Linked DNA regions of Homo sapiens: region 1 is linked to region 2. Evidence: promoter capture Hi-C in human tissues and cell types (Jung and others, 2019). All regions are on one chromosome and are shown on one strand. The core of a region is centred on a gene start or on the middle of the fragment in contact, and the rest is flanking DNA. Distances in the headings are between cores, read along the strand shown.

The links. Contacts are between HindIII fragments. The study calls those that stand out against the background at their distance.
Region 1: a fragment that was not itself captured here is called in contact with the fragment with the promoter of FRAT1 in region 2 in 4 of the 25 tissues and cell types used here (hippocampus, lymphoblastoid cells, mesenchymal stem cells and 1 more).

Annotation. Positions count from the first base shown.
Region 1 is chr10:97,067,916-97,074,887 of GRCh38, forward strand. The region is part of intron 4 of SLIT1 (slit guidance ligand 1); the gene reads right to left. Among named protein-coding and RNA genes, the nearest start is that of SLIT1-AS1, 31 kb to the right of the region's middle. RefSeq lists an enhancer at 1,880-3,079 and a silencer at 4,917-5,211. The HindIII fragment of the contact is 4,308 bases long and covers 2,670-6,972 here.
Region 2 is chr10:97,314,364-97,320,834 of GRCh38, forward strand. It overlaps FRAT1 (FRAT regulator of Wnt signaling pathway 1), which reads left to right and starts at 4,908. Exons shown (of 1, transcript NM_005479.4): 1 at 4,908-6,471. The coding sequence starts at 5,091. The coding sequence ends at 5,930. RefSeq lists enhancers at 4,222-5,011, 4,749-5,043, 6,133-6,292 and silencers at 4,883-5,192, 5,693-5,792. The HindIII fragment of the contact is 12,338 bases long and covers 3,664-6,471 here.

The DNA.
Region 1 (6,972 bases), core at 3,574-6,073, 250 kb before region 2:
GCACACCGCCCCTTGAACTGTCAAGGCCGCCGCTGCCCTGTCTGGGTTTCCCTGGTGAGAAACCCAACGGTGTGCACAGAGCCCTGAGTCAGAAAGGTAGGAGGCAGGTGGGCTCCTACTGCCTACTAGAACTGTGAGAAGGCACTGGACCAGCTGCTGCTGCACCCCAGCACCTAGGACAGTGCCTGGCCCACATCAGCCACTCGCCAAGCATTTGTTGAATGAATGAATGAATGAATGAATGATGGAACTGGAGAGATGCACCCTGTCCTGGAGGGAGCTCAGTCCCCAGCTACCTCCCCTTCTCTGGGCTGGGGACTTGCAGCTGGAGGGAGGAGCCTGGGGTTCGAGGCCTGGCCCTCCCCCTCCTGGCCATACATCTGCAAGGCACCCTTCCCCTCCCGAGCCCAGTTTCCTCATGTACAAAATGGGAAAAATGAAAGCCTGGCAAAGCAATTGCCTTCCCGTCCCCACAGAGTGGGCACCAACATCTATGTGCTCCCTCCCCCAAACCCAGCCCCTCTGTCCTGTCCCCTCACAGCCTTTAGAAAAGCAGCCAGGCACCCGTGTCTGAAGGGGCCTTGGCACCATCAGTGCCCCTCGTTCTTGCTCTCTATTGCTCTCTCTCTCCTGGATGTAGGCCCCATCTCCTGGAGGGGAGATGGTTCAAGCCTGCAGCACAGACACAGCTGTCCCTCCTCCAGAGCCGTCCCACCTGCTATCCCTGAGGCATCTCCCCTTCTTGTGGGGGAAGCTTCCTCCTCCCGCACTCGCCCGGCCCCACCTTCCCTTCCTGCTCTCCCCATGGCATCTTTCATCTTCGATCTTGGTTACTTGTGCCATATCGCCAGCTCCCCAGTGTAGTCTGTCAGTATTCCTGGAGACATTCCCCAGATTCCGCCCATTTAGGCTACTCCCCAGAGGGCCCCCAGTGGCCTACTCCCCGATGCCTGTCTTTATGCAGCAACTCCCCCAGCCCCATATGTCTTGAGAGGCTCATTTCAGTCTTTGCCTGCCTAATCCTTGTTATCATCTCTTCCTTGCCTAGAGAGTTCCTTGGCTGCCACATCCTCTTCTTAGTGTCTCTGCTTCATATAAGAAATTGCTACCCTGGTGGTGCCTGCCCTAATGGCTTGATGGTTCTCCTGGTCTGTGGACTTGTGGACTTGTTCTCTCCATCTTCCTAAGTGGGATGCTGCCACTGGGCAGAGTGGGCTGGCAGGGAAATTACTGGATTTAGAGCAGGGCTGTACAGGCCACACAGGTAAACAACAGACTGCCCACACTGGAGCTCATGGTCATGCGAGTTCCTCAGTAACCAGGAGCCCAGGCTGACATGGGAGCCCAACATGAAACCAAACTCACCTTGATGGAGTGCCCACAGGCACCAGTGACCGGGCTGGGCTTGTGGATGCAGAGCTAACCACAGGTGCATGGTCCACCCTAGAGCACTCATGCCCAGAAGAGGGCACAGATGGGAAACCAGTGAGTGGACCTTCAATCCTTCACCCCAGAAATGTGTACTGAAAGCTGATGGTCTGCTGGGGACCCCCAAAGACTTGCTTTCATGGGGTGTACATGCCAGCTTTCAACAATGGCTGGAGGAGCAGTACTGCCAAAGAGATGGGAGAGTGCAGAGAAGTGAGTGAACAAGTCCGCTGGAGGGAGGAGAGGTGATCTCTGACCGGATCTTAAAGAGTTGATGTGTCCCAGACAGAAATGGAAAATGAGGAAAGGGTGTTCTAAGCAGCGGTAACAGCATGTGCAGAAACCCAGAGACAGGAAGGAACAAGGCAGGCTGGGGGAATCTCATGTGGTTTCGTATGACTGGTGTGTGTACGTGGGAGGTTGTGGTAGTTAAAAGACATCCACAAATTCTTTGACATTCCTCCCTTCAAAAGACAGAGGCTCATTCTCTTCCTCCTGAATGTGGGCAGGACTCAGTAACTTACTTCTGAAGAACCACATATGATGGAAACGGTAATGGATAACCTCCGAGACTAGATCATAAAAGACACTGTAGCTCCCTCCTTGTTCCTTCTGGGTTTGCCCTCTCTGGGAGAACCCAACCCAGGTCATAAGGACACTCAAGCAGCTCTCTGGGGAGGCCCACATGGAGAGGAACCGAGGCCTCTCGCCAACAGCAGGCACAGGCTTGCCAGCCTGTGAGCCAGCCATCAAGGAAGTGCATTCTCCAGCCCCAGCCAAGCCTTCAGATGACACAACCCCCCAACATTGTGATGCAATCTCATGAAAAACCCCAAGCCAGAACCACCCAGCCACCTACAGAGACTGTGAGATGTTTATTGTTTGTTCTTGAAAGCCGCAGTGTTTTGAAGTCATTGGTTACGCACAATTGATGACTCATCCAGCGTTGCTTTGAGGCATGACCCTAAGGAAGGGAGGGGCATGCTTAGGCTCCAGGTTAATGGGCTGAAATCATGTTAGAGACTTGGCTACATCACTTCTTTTTGGGGGCCTCAGTTTCCTCATTTGTCCAATTCATAGGCTGGAGCAGAAGATTTCTAAGCTCTTCACCAGTGCAGACCCAACCACATGCCTGCAAGACACATTGCTATGGTCTGAATTATCGTTTCCTCTCAAAAAAGGCATAGGTTGAAACCTAATCTCCAATGTGATGGTATTAGGAGGTGAGGACTTTGGGAGGTGATAGGTCATGTGAGCTCCATCCTTATAATAGGATTAGTGCCCTTATGAAAGAGACCGCAGAGAGCTGCCTTGCCCCTTCCTCCGTGTGAGGACACAGCTAGAAGGCACTGTCTATGAAGCCGGAAGCAGCCTTCACCACACGCCAAATCTGCCAATACCTTGATCTTGGACTTCCCACCTCTAGAACTGTGAGAAATAAATTTCTGCTGTTTATAAGCCACTTGGTCTACGGCATTTTGTTTTTGTTTTTTTAGAGACAAGGTCTTGCTGTCACCCAGGCCAGACTGCAGTGGCACAATCATAGCACACTGTCACCTTGAACTCCTGGGCTCAAGCGATCCTCCCCACCTCAGCCTTCTGAGTAGCTGGGACTACAGATGCGCTGGGACTACAGATGCTCTACGGGTGGAGACAGGGTCTCATTTTGTTGCTCAGGCTGGTCTCAAACTCCTGGCCTCAAGTGATTCACCCACCTCAGCCTCCCAATACAATATTTTGTTATAGCAGCTGGAACAGACTAAGACACACATCAAGTGAGGTGGTTGCTTCTTTAGAGGATTTGGGGTCCCAGAAAGGAGGTGAGGAAAGTTGCTGGCCATACACCTACTGAAAGACGGGGTCTGGGGAGAAGACAGACACAGCCTGCCACCTTTGCTGACCCACAGGGACTCAGGGAGATGAGAGCATGTGCATTAAGAGCCAGATGGAGGCAGGAAGGAGTGGTGGCCTGAGGACGTCCACAGAGTCAGGAAGGCGGGACCTCCAGTGGGACCCTCATCTCAGCCCAGCCGACCACTCACCCTTTGGCCAAGCCTGGGAAGGAACGCTGGGCCGGCACTCACATCCATTCATTATTCCATTTAATCCTCACCACAACCCTGCAAGGAAGGTTTTTTTATTCGTATTGATTTGCTTATCGATTTAGACCCAACCTTGTTCTAGAAAGCCTTTAAGGTGGCTTATAGGGATTTTCAAAACAGCAAGAGAGCAAGAGTGAAAAATGAGGCACAGAGAAGAGGAGGAATCAATGGCGGGTACTAAGAATGCATGCACCATGTGACCACATGCCAGGCTGGGCTGAGCGGGGCTCTGAGCTTTCTCACTGAAAGCCAGCGTGAAAGGAGAGCCAGTCAGCTCACAGCGCCCACGGGACACGTATAAGTCTAAAAGGATCAGCTTCTCAGGAGTACAGCTGGTGTGGCACTCAGATGAGGCAAGAATTTTCCCAGGGGTGTTTATTAAAAATGACAGTGTAGCCTAATCAATAACACTAGATCCTTATAATTAATGGGGTTTGAGTGTCTGTTTCTTATAATAGCATCAAAGTACAATTCAGCAAATGCATTTCTATAAGGACTCACACCAGGAACTAAGTAGGGAAGAGGAAGAAGGCAGAGGCAGACTCCAGGTAGGCCCAGTCTATGCAAAGACGCTGGGGCATGAGAGAGCCTGGTATGACTGGGGAGGAGCAGAGGCTCTGGGAAGCAAGTGTCAGCTGGGAGAAGCCTCACACAGGCCGGGGAGAGTGATGGGATAGAACAGAGAGGGCTGTGATATGACCATCTTTTTAATTATTTTGTTTATTTATTTAGAGACAGCATCTCACTCTGTCACTCAGGCTGGAGTGCAGTCACTCAATCACAGCTCACTGCACTGTTGAAATCCTGGGCTCAGGTGATTTTCCTCTCTCAGCTTCCTGAGTAGCTGGGACTACAGGCGCATGCTACCATGCCTGGCTAATTTTTTAAAAAATATTTTTGTAGAGACAGGGTCTCACTATGTTGTCCAGGCTGGTCTCAAACTCCTGGGTTCAAGTGATCCTCCCTCCTCAGCCTCCCAAGTAGCTGGGACTAAAGGCACGGGCACTGTGCCCAGCTCTGACCATCTTTCAGGCTTTGTTCTGGGGCACCAAAGCTTAAAGAGGAAAGACACAGCCCCCAGGCAGGCAGGCAGCAGGTGATGCCAACGGCCATCAAGAGATAAGAGATGGCCCAAAGCTGGGTGTGGAACTGTCCCACCCTGGCCAGTCAGCCCACAGCCGGAACCAGCCCTCATCGTTTAAATGAAGACAGGAAAGTGAATTTGGGGCCCCAGGAGAGGCCAGAGGAAAACAGGTGAACCTTGGAAGCCTCAGGAAAATGCAGCCTGATGGCAGCAAAGCGGGTGGTAGAAGGAGCCTGCACCTGTAGAGAGAAGGACCAGGTTCAACTCCTGCTTCTGCTATTGACCAACCATGGACCTCGAGAAGTTCTGCACCTGAGAGCTTCAGGTGTCCTATTTGTAAAATAACTACCACGTGGGACTTTGGAGAAGATTGTGAATTGATGTACTTAAGCTTCTGAATCACAACCTCCATTTAGCAGCATTCAAGAAATGCGGGCTGTTGTCCCTGCCCGAAGCACAGCCTAAGCAACCCTAAGGCTCTGTTGTTTCAAGCTTTCCCACGAGGGGGCGCCAGAAGCCTTCCCTGGACCTGGATGCCTCAACCACATCGCAAACTAGCAGAACAAAGCTATTCTCTTTTTTTTTCTTTTTGCTCCAACTGACTTCCTACCTTGCCAATACTTGTCTCATCTTTCCCAAATCCCTTTGAAATAAAGTTTATCATGTCTTCTGCCCCTGGTCTGTGTGGAAACCCCCCAAAAGCACCACCTAAGCCTTTCCCCATCAGTTTTCCGGGAGCTCTGGGCCACCTTCATCTTCCTCAGACCCAGTCATTGCTGCCCGTCCTCCTCCCACGCGGCCTTGTCAAACGCCCTGAAGTGAGGAGATGGCCAGGATGTGTCTGGGCAGAATGAGACACCCTGAGAACTGCCGTCCTGGAAGCGGGCGGGATCTGCGACTGGAAGGACAAACAGCCAAGCCCAGGGCAGCCAGGGCCTGTCCCAGCCCGGGGAAGCGGAGCCAGACAGGGGTTCAGAAGGAGGGCAGGGGCAGGACAGTGACGAGGGCACCATGACAGATCCCCAGAGTCAGACCCAGGACAGCGCTGGGGAGATACAGGGCTGGGGCAGAAGCTGAAGGGCGGGACAAGGTCCCAGACTTCTGACAAGCACCTGGGGGATGCGGGGATGCTGGTCCAGGGAGCACTCACGGAGAGGCCAGGGTGCTGAGGACAAAGCCCACAGCTGGGTGTCACAGGGGAGACTTGGCTCCACTCACTTAAATCGTGTGGTCTCGGGCAAGTCATGTAACCTCTCTGGCCCCAGTTTTCTCATCTGCAACATGGGGATGGAAAGCGGCACTTATGTTGCAGGATCTGATGGGAGAGGTGCCGCTGCCTACTCCCTCACCTCTGCTGACATTCCTCCAGTTTCCCAGACCCCTCCTGACATCCACAGGACCTGTGTACTTGCTGTGGCTTCTGCCTGGGATACTCTTCCCTCACCTTCACCCAGGAAACGCTATTTATCCTTCACACCTCAGTCTACAAACACCTCCCCTGAGCCTGAGTCAGCTGCTCTATCTGCAACAGGCTCCTAGCACCCCCACTTTTACTTTTCGGCACAACCCAGGCTTGTAATAAAATACAGGTGCACCGAATGTGATGAAGTACTGACTCTGGTGAACGTCCATCTCCCTCTCCAGACCATAACCTCCCAGCAGACACTCTCCTTCACTTTCCCTTATATCCTGGCACATTGCAGAGACTTAGTAATTTTTAGCTGAATGAACTAAAATGGATCCTTACATGAGTCCTCTGCTCTAATCCCTCTCCGTTTTCCCGGCCAAAACAAGTAGTTAGGACTGGCCAAGGGAGAGGCAGGAGCTCAGGGCCAGACAGGCTGGCTGTGCATGGCGAGAGACCACAGCTCCCCACCTATGCTGCGGCCACTTGTACCTGCTCTGCCTAACCAGGCTGCAGACCCAGTGAGATGCAGGCTCAGAAGGGGAAGGCAGGCACGAGCAAGCACTTGTTATTGTGGATGATGTAACAATCGCACCTCTTCCCTTCACACATCCTTCAGGATATTAACAACCAACACCCTCAAGTGGTTCCAAGTTCACACCAGCTCAAGGCAAGGGCCCTGCAGACAAAGCATGAACCCCATTGCCAAGATCAAGCACCCCAGGAGGCAAGCTCCACCAAGAGCAGCCCCCACTTGGCCTGGAAGCATCGGGCAACCCCAGTCGGCCGCCCGCCCCTGAAGACAAGGGGGCCGCCAGGCCCACACCCTGACTTGGCACCATCCCCAGGCACCCTGCTCTGGCTGCCCCTCCTTCTGCACACTCTGCCAATCCCCCCATCCTCTCCCAGGGCTGGAGGAGGCAGGGGTTGGGGAAGCTGAGGTCAAGACCCCA
Region 2 (6,471 bases), core at 3,658-6,157:
CACCCACCTCGGCCTACCAAAGTGCTGGGATTACAGGCCTGAGCCACTGCACCCAGCCAATTTCCCCTTTTCTATGGCTTATTGTTTCTAACACTTTATTGTAAAATTTTTCAAACAGCCAACAAAATTGAAAGAATACCCTGTTACCCAACACCTAGATCCTAGTATTTTAAAAATTGAGATATATTTCACATAACATAAAATTCAACATTTTAAAGTGTACACTTCAATAGTTTTTAGTACTGTATATTCATTATGTTGTACAAACATCACCACTAATTTCAAAACATTTTTATAACCCCAAAAAGAAAACTCTTACCCATTAGCTGTTAGTCCTAATTCCCCCCTTCTCCCATCCCCTGGCAACCACTAATCTACCTTCTGTTTCTATGGATTTGTCTATTCTGGACGTTTCATATAAATAGAATTACACAATATGTTGCCTTTCCTGTCTGATTTGTTCACTCAGCATAATGTTTTCAACATTCATTCCTTTTGTAGCATGTATCAGTACTTCATTCCTTTTTATGGTGAATAATACTCCATCGTATGAGTATACGACATTTGATTCATCCATTTATCAGCTGATGAACATCTGAGTTGTTTGCACTTTTTGACTATCATGAATAATGCTGCTATCAACATTTGTGTACACGTTTTTATGTGAACATATGTTTTCAATTTTCTCTGGTATATAGCTAAAAGTAGAATGGATGGGTCATATGGTAACATTAACATATTACTATACATGTTTTATCACATATCTACCTGTCTAACTATCCTTCTAATCCATCTATATTAATCCTTCTCACATTTTACTGTACTTTGGAATAAATTGCAAACATCAGTACACCTCACTCCAAACTCATCAGCATGTCTATTACTATAATTCAAGCTTTCTTTACAATTTATTCTCTTCATGTAAAATCTACAATTTTTTTCTCTTTGTTTTTTTGTTTTGTTTTGTTTTGTTTTTGTTTTTTGTTTTTTTGAGACAGGGTCTCACTCTACTGCCCAGGCTGGAGTGCAGTGGCACAATCTTGGCTTACTGCAACCTCTGCCTCTCGGGCTCAAGCAATTCTCCTGCCTCAATCTCCTGAGTAGCTGGGACTACAGGCATGAGCCACCATGCCCTGCTACTTGTTGTATTTTTAGTAGAGACGGGGTTTCACCATGTTGACCAGACTGGTCTCAAACTCCTGACCTCAGCTGATCTGCCCACCTCAGCCTCTCAAAGCGTTGGGATTACAGGCGTGAGCCACCGCGCCCAGCCCACTCAATGAGTTTTAACACATGCCTAAACCTATGAAACCCAAATCAAGATATCAAGATTTAGAACATGTCCACCCTCCTGCAAGTTCCCTCTGTCTGTTCAGTGTCACAGTGTCAGTCCTGCCCCTGCTCTACCTTTTCCAAAGGCAACCAGTCTTCTGATGTTTTCCCCACCGTAAGTTACTTTCCCTGTTCTAGAACTTCATATAAACAGAAACATATGACATATATCCGTTTTTATCTGGCTTCTTTCACTTAGCATACTGTTTTTAAGCTTCATTCATGTTACTGCATGCAGCAATATTCAGTCCTTTCTGTTGCTGAACTGTTTTCTGTCATCATCCTGTGTGAATGTACAATAGGTTGTTTGTCCATTCACCTGTTGATGAACACTTGGGCCATTTCACTTTTGGCTTTTATGAATAAAACTCCTTTGATGTGAGCCAACATCGTGCCACTGCACTCCAGCCTGGGCAAAAGAGGGAGACCCTGTCTCAATTAAAAAGAAAAAAAAATATGCTATGATCACCTCCCTGTAGGCCTTGATGTGGGCCCATGTGTTTATTTCTCTTAGCTAAGTATCCAGGATTGAAACTGTGTTCCAGGACAGGTGTATGTTTCATTTTATAAGAAACTGTCAGGCCTTTTTCCAAGGTGGTTGTACCATTTTTCATGCCCACAACAATATATGAGGCTTATAAGTTGTGAGCCAAAGATAAAAATGCACAAATTGTAAACTGCTACTAATTATTTTCATTTGAAAATTTTAAGTAGGCCGGGTCTGGTGGCTCATGCCTGTAAATCCCAGCACTTTGGGAGGTCGAGGCAGGCGGATCACCTGAAGTCAGGAGTTCAAGACCAGCCTGGCCAACATGGTGAAACCCCATCTCTACTAAAAATACAAAAATTAGCCAGGCATGGTGGTGCACGCCTGCAGTGTCAGCTACTTAGCAGGCTGAGGCAGGAGAACTGCTTGAACCCGGGAGGCAGAGGTTGCAGTGAGCGAAGATTGTGCCACTGCACTCCAGCCTGGACAACAGAGCAAGACTCCATCACAACAACAATAACAACAACAACAACAACAACAACAAATGCCCAACAAACCAGGAATAGAAGGGAACATTCTTAACCTGATAAATACTATCTATGAAAAATCCACAGCTAACATCCTACCTAATGTTGTGAAAGACTGAATGTTTTCATCTAAGATCAGGAATAAGACAGGGCCAGGTGCTGTGGCTCATGCCTGTAATCTTAGCACTTTAGGAAGCTGGGGTGGGCGGATCGTTTGAGCTCAGGAGTTCAAGACCTGCCCGAGCAACATGGTGAGACCCCCTGGGTCTACAAAAAATACAAAAATTAGCCAGGCATGGTGGCTTGCACCTGTAGTCCCAGCTACTCAGGAGGCTGAGATAGGAGGATCAACTGAGCCTGGGGAAGTCAAGGCTGCAGTGAGCAGAGATCATGCCACTGCACTCCAGCCTGGGCCACAGAATGAGACCCTGTCTCAAAAAAAAAAAAAAAGAAAAAAAGAAAAGAAAAAAGAAAAAGAAGAGAAGCAAAACTATCTCTATTTGTAGATGACACGATCTTCTATATAGAAAATCCTAAGGAATCCACAAAAACAAGGTGATGAACCTTATGACACCCTGTAGAAATCCAGATTTCGTAGATTAGAAATCCAATGGCTTTGTTTAAACTGTCTCTTCCTCTGTTTTTACATTTTTTCCTCCACACTTGACAAAAACAAACCCAACTCTTTTTAAACCAACTTCCCTACCTCTTTCCTGCACTCATCCCTTCCTAAAGGTTTGCTCCTATAATTATTATCGTTGGAACTGCCCAACAAGACCCTCGTTTTCTATTTATCTGGATCTCCAGGCTCATTTCTTTCTTTGTATCCTATTTTCTATATCATGCTCAGAATTTTAAAGTTGCTTCCAGGCTGGGCGCGGTGGCTCATGTCTGTAACGCCAGCATTTCGGGAGGAGGGATTGCTTGAGTCCAGGAGTTTGAGACCGGACGGGCCAACATGGCGAAACCCTGTATCCACTAAAAATACAAAAATTAGCCAGGTGTAGTGGCGCGTGCCTATTGTCCCAGCTACTCGGGAGGCTGAGGTGGGAGGATCACCTGATCCTGGGAAGTCAAGGCTGCAATCAGCCAGATCACACCACTGCACTCCAGCCTGGGTGACAGAGTGAAATTCTGTCAAAGAAAGAAAAGAAAGAGAAAGAAAAGGAAGAAAGGAAGGAAGGAAGCGTATCTCCATTTTCATCCAAACAGGTATTTTTCTCTGCTACTACGTACCTCCTCAGAGCCCATCCCCCCTACTGGTCTGAGGCTTTTTTTTAAACAACTTTCTGGACATAGCCCCTCTTAAGACTAACAACCTATAGCCAGGCGTGGTGGCTCACGCTTGTAATCCCAGGATTTTGGGAGGCCGAGGCAGGTGGATCACCTGAGGTCGGGAGTACCAGACCAGCCTGACCAATATGGAGAAACCCCATCTCTGCTAAAAACACAAAATTAGGCTGGGCATGGCGGCGCATGCCTGTAATCCCAGCAACTCGGGAGGCTGAGGCAGGAGAACTGCTTGAACCCAGGAGGCGGAAGTTGTGGTGAGCGGAGATTGCGCCATTGTACTCCAGCCTGGGCAACAAGAGCGAAACTCTGTCTCAAAAAAACAAAACAAAACAAAAAGAGTAGCAACCTAGGCCGGGCGCAGTGGCTCACGCCTGTAATCCCAGCACTTTGGGAGGCTGAGGCGGGTGGATCACCTGAGGTCAGGAGTTCGAGACCAGCCTGGCCAACATGGTGAAACCCCGTCTCTACTAAAAATACAAAAATTAGCCGGGCGTGGTGGTGGGCGCCTGTAATCCCAGCTACTCGGAAGGCTGAGGCAGGAGAATTGCTTAAACGCAGGAGGCGGAGGTTGTAGTGAGTGGAGATCGAGCCACTGCACTCCAGCCTGGGCGATAGAGCGAGACTCCGTCTCAAAAAAACAAACAAACAAATAAACAAAAAGACTAGCAACCTCCTCTCCAGCAATGCCAACCCCAGTCCAGGCCCCCATCCGCCCAGGATCTCGATCAAAAAACATTAATCTGTGGCCTTTCTTTGCCATTTCCAACTCTGCCACCTCCATCGAACGACAAGGTCCCCTTCTTCCTTTCCATTCCCGTCAGCTTCATTTCCCTAATCTCCGTACAAATCCCTAGCCTGACTCCCTTTCCTTTCCATCCTCACCAGACGCCCGCATGCCGGACCTCAAAAGCGCAAACGCTAAAAACCGGTTGAGTTGACGCACGGAGAGAAGGGGTGTGTGGGTGGGTGGGTGTGTGTTAGTGTGCGTGCTTGCTTGTGTGTGGAAGAAACCAACAGGGTTCACGCTGGTGCCCATTTCTGGAAATGCCAATCGCGCCCGACTGCGGGAGCCAGGATCAGGTCCCCAGGGCGCCCTTGCAGACAGCACCCTGAGCGAAGGAGCTCAGAAGGCAGTCCGGCTTCACCCAGACCCCCAATCCCACAGAAGCGCCGTCCCCCAGCGGCACAGCACCCCCTCCCCGGCGCGGTGGTAGGGCCCGACGTGACGTCACCCATTGTTTACAAATCAACCCGAGCCGGCAGGATTCCGGCTCCCGCGGCTGCAGGCGCGCGGCTAGAGTGCCTGGCGGGCTCCGGCTTCCGCGTCCGCCCCGGCCCCGGTCCAGACTTAGTCTTCAGCTCCGCGCCCGCTCCGCCGCGGCCCACCGCGCCCGCCGGCAGCCGAGCCCCCAGCGACGCCCGCACAGCTCCGGGTGCCCAGACAGGGGGCCATGCCGTGCCGGAGGGAGGAGGAAGAGGAAGCCGGCGAGGAGGCGGAGGGGGAGGAAGAGGAGGAGGACAGCTTCCTCCTACTGCAGCAGTCAGTGGCGCTGGGCAGCTCGGGCGAGGTGGACCGGCTGGTGGCCCAGATCGGCGAGACGCTGCAGCTGGACGCGGCGCAGCACAGCCCGGCCTCGCCGTGCGGGCCCCCGGGGGCGCCGCTGCGGGCCCCGGGGCCCCTGGCTGCGGCGGTGCCGGCGGACAAGGCCAGGTCCCCGGCGGTGCCGCTGCTGCTGCCGCCCGCGTTGGCGGAGACTGTGGGCCCGGCGCCCCCTGGGGTCCTGCGCTGCGCCCTGGGGGACCGCGGCCGCGTGCGGGGCCGCGCTGCGCCCTACTGCGTGGCCGAGCTCGCCACAGGCCCCAGCGCGCTGTCCCCACTGCCCCCTCAGGCCGACCTTGATGGGCCTCCGGGAGCTGGCAAGCAGGGCATCCCGCAGCCGCTGTCGGGTCCGTGCCGGCGAGGATGGCTCCGGGGCGCCGCCGCCTCCCGCCGCCTGCAGCAGCGACGCGGGTCCCAACCAGAAACCCGCACAGGCGACGACGACCCGCACCGGCTTCTGCAGCAGCTAGTGCTCTCTGGAAACCTCATCAAGGAGGCCGTGCGAAGGCTTCATTCGCGACGGCTGCAGTTACGTGCAAAGCTTCCCCAACGCCCGCTCCTGGGACCTCTGTCGGCCCCGGTGCATGAACCCCCTTCGCCTCGCAGCCCTCGCGCGGCCTGCAGTGACCCTGGCGCCTCCGGGAGGGCGCAGCTCAGAACTGGCGACGGCGTTCTTGTGCCTGGCAGCTAACACGCCCGGGGTGGCCACAGCGCCAGCCTCAGACTGGAGGGCAAGGGGTTCCCTTGAGGGCTGCAGTTCTACTCAGGCTGGTGGAGAACTCTGGCTTTTGGAAGCGAGAGTAAAAAGCTAATGACGAGGAACCGAAAAATCGCGAGTGTTTCGCGGGTAACTGGGGTTGAGGGCCAAAATATTTGGAATGAAGGACTTTGGCCCTATTTAAGGCAGATTTTACAGAGCGCACCTCAAACGTACAAGTCAGTAGGACTCCTTATTTGGCGTGACCCGACCTGGCCGCGGAGCCTGCATTTCCTCGCAGCCTCTCAGTGCCCTCCAGCCCCGCGACCATGTGGCCACAATCCACGCTTCTCCGGATCGCGGTGCGCCGGAACCACGGAGGATGATGCCAGTTACTTGCTTTACCTTTTCAGGGCTGGCTCCTGATCCACTTTGGGGGAGGAGAACATGAGTAGATAATTTCAGGGTGCAGCCCAATCTGCCAGACTTAAAAAAACCATCTTGTGTCTTTGGAGGTGCTGCTTAATACCAAACA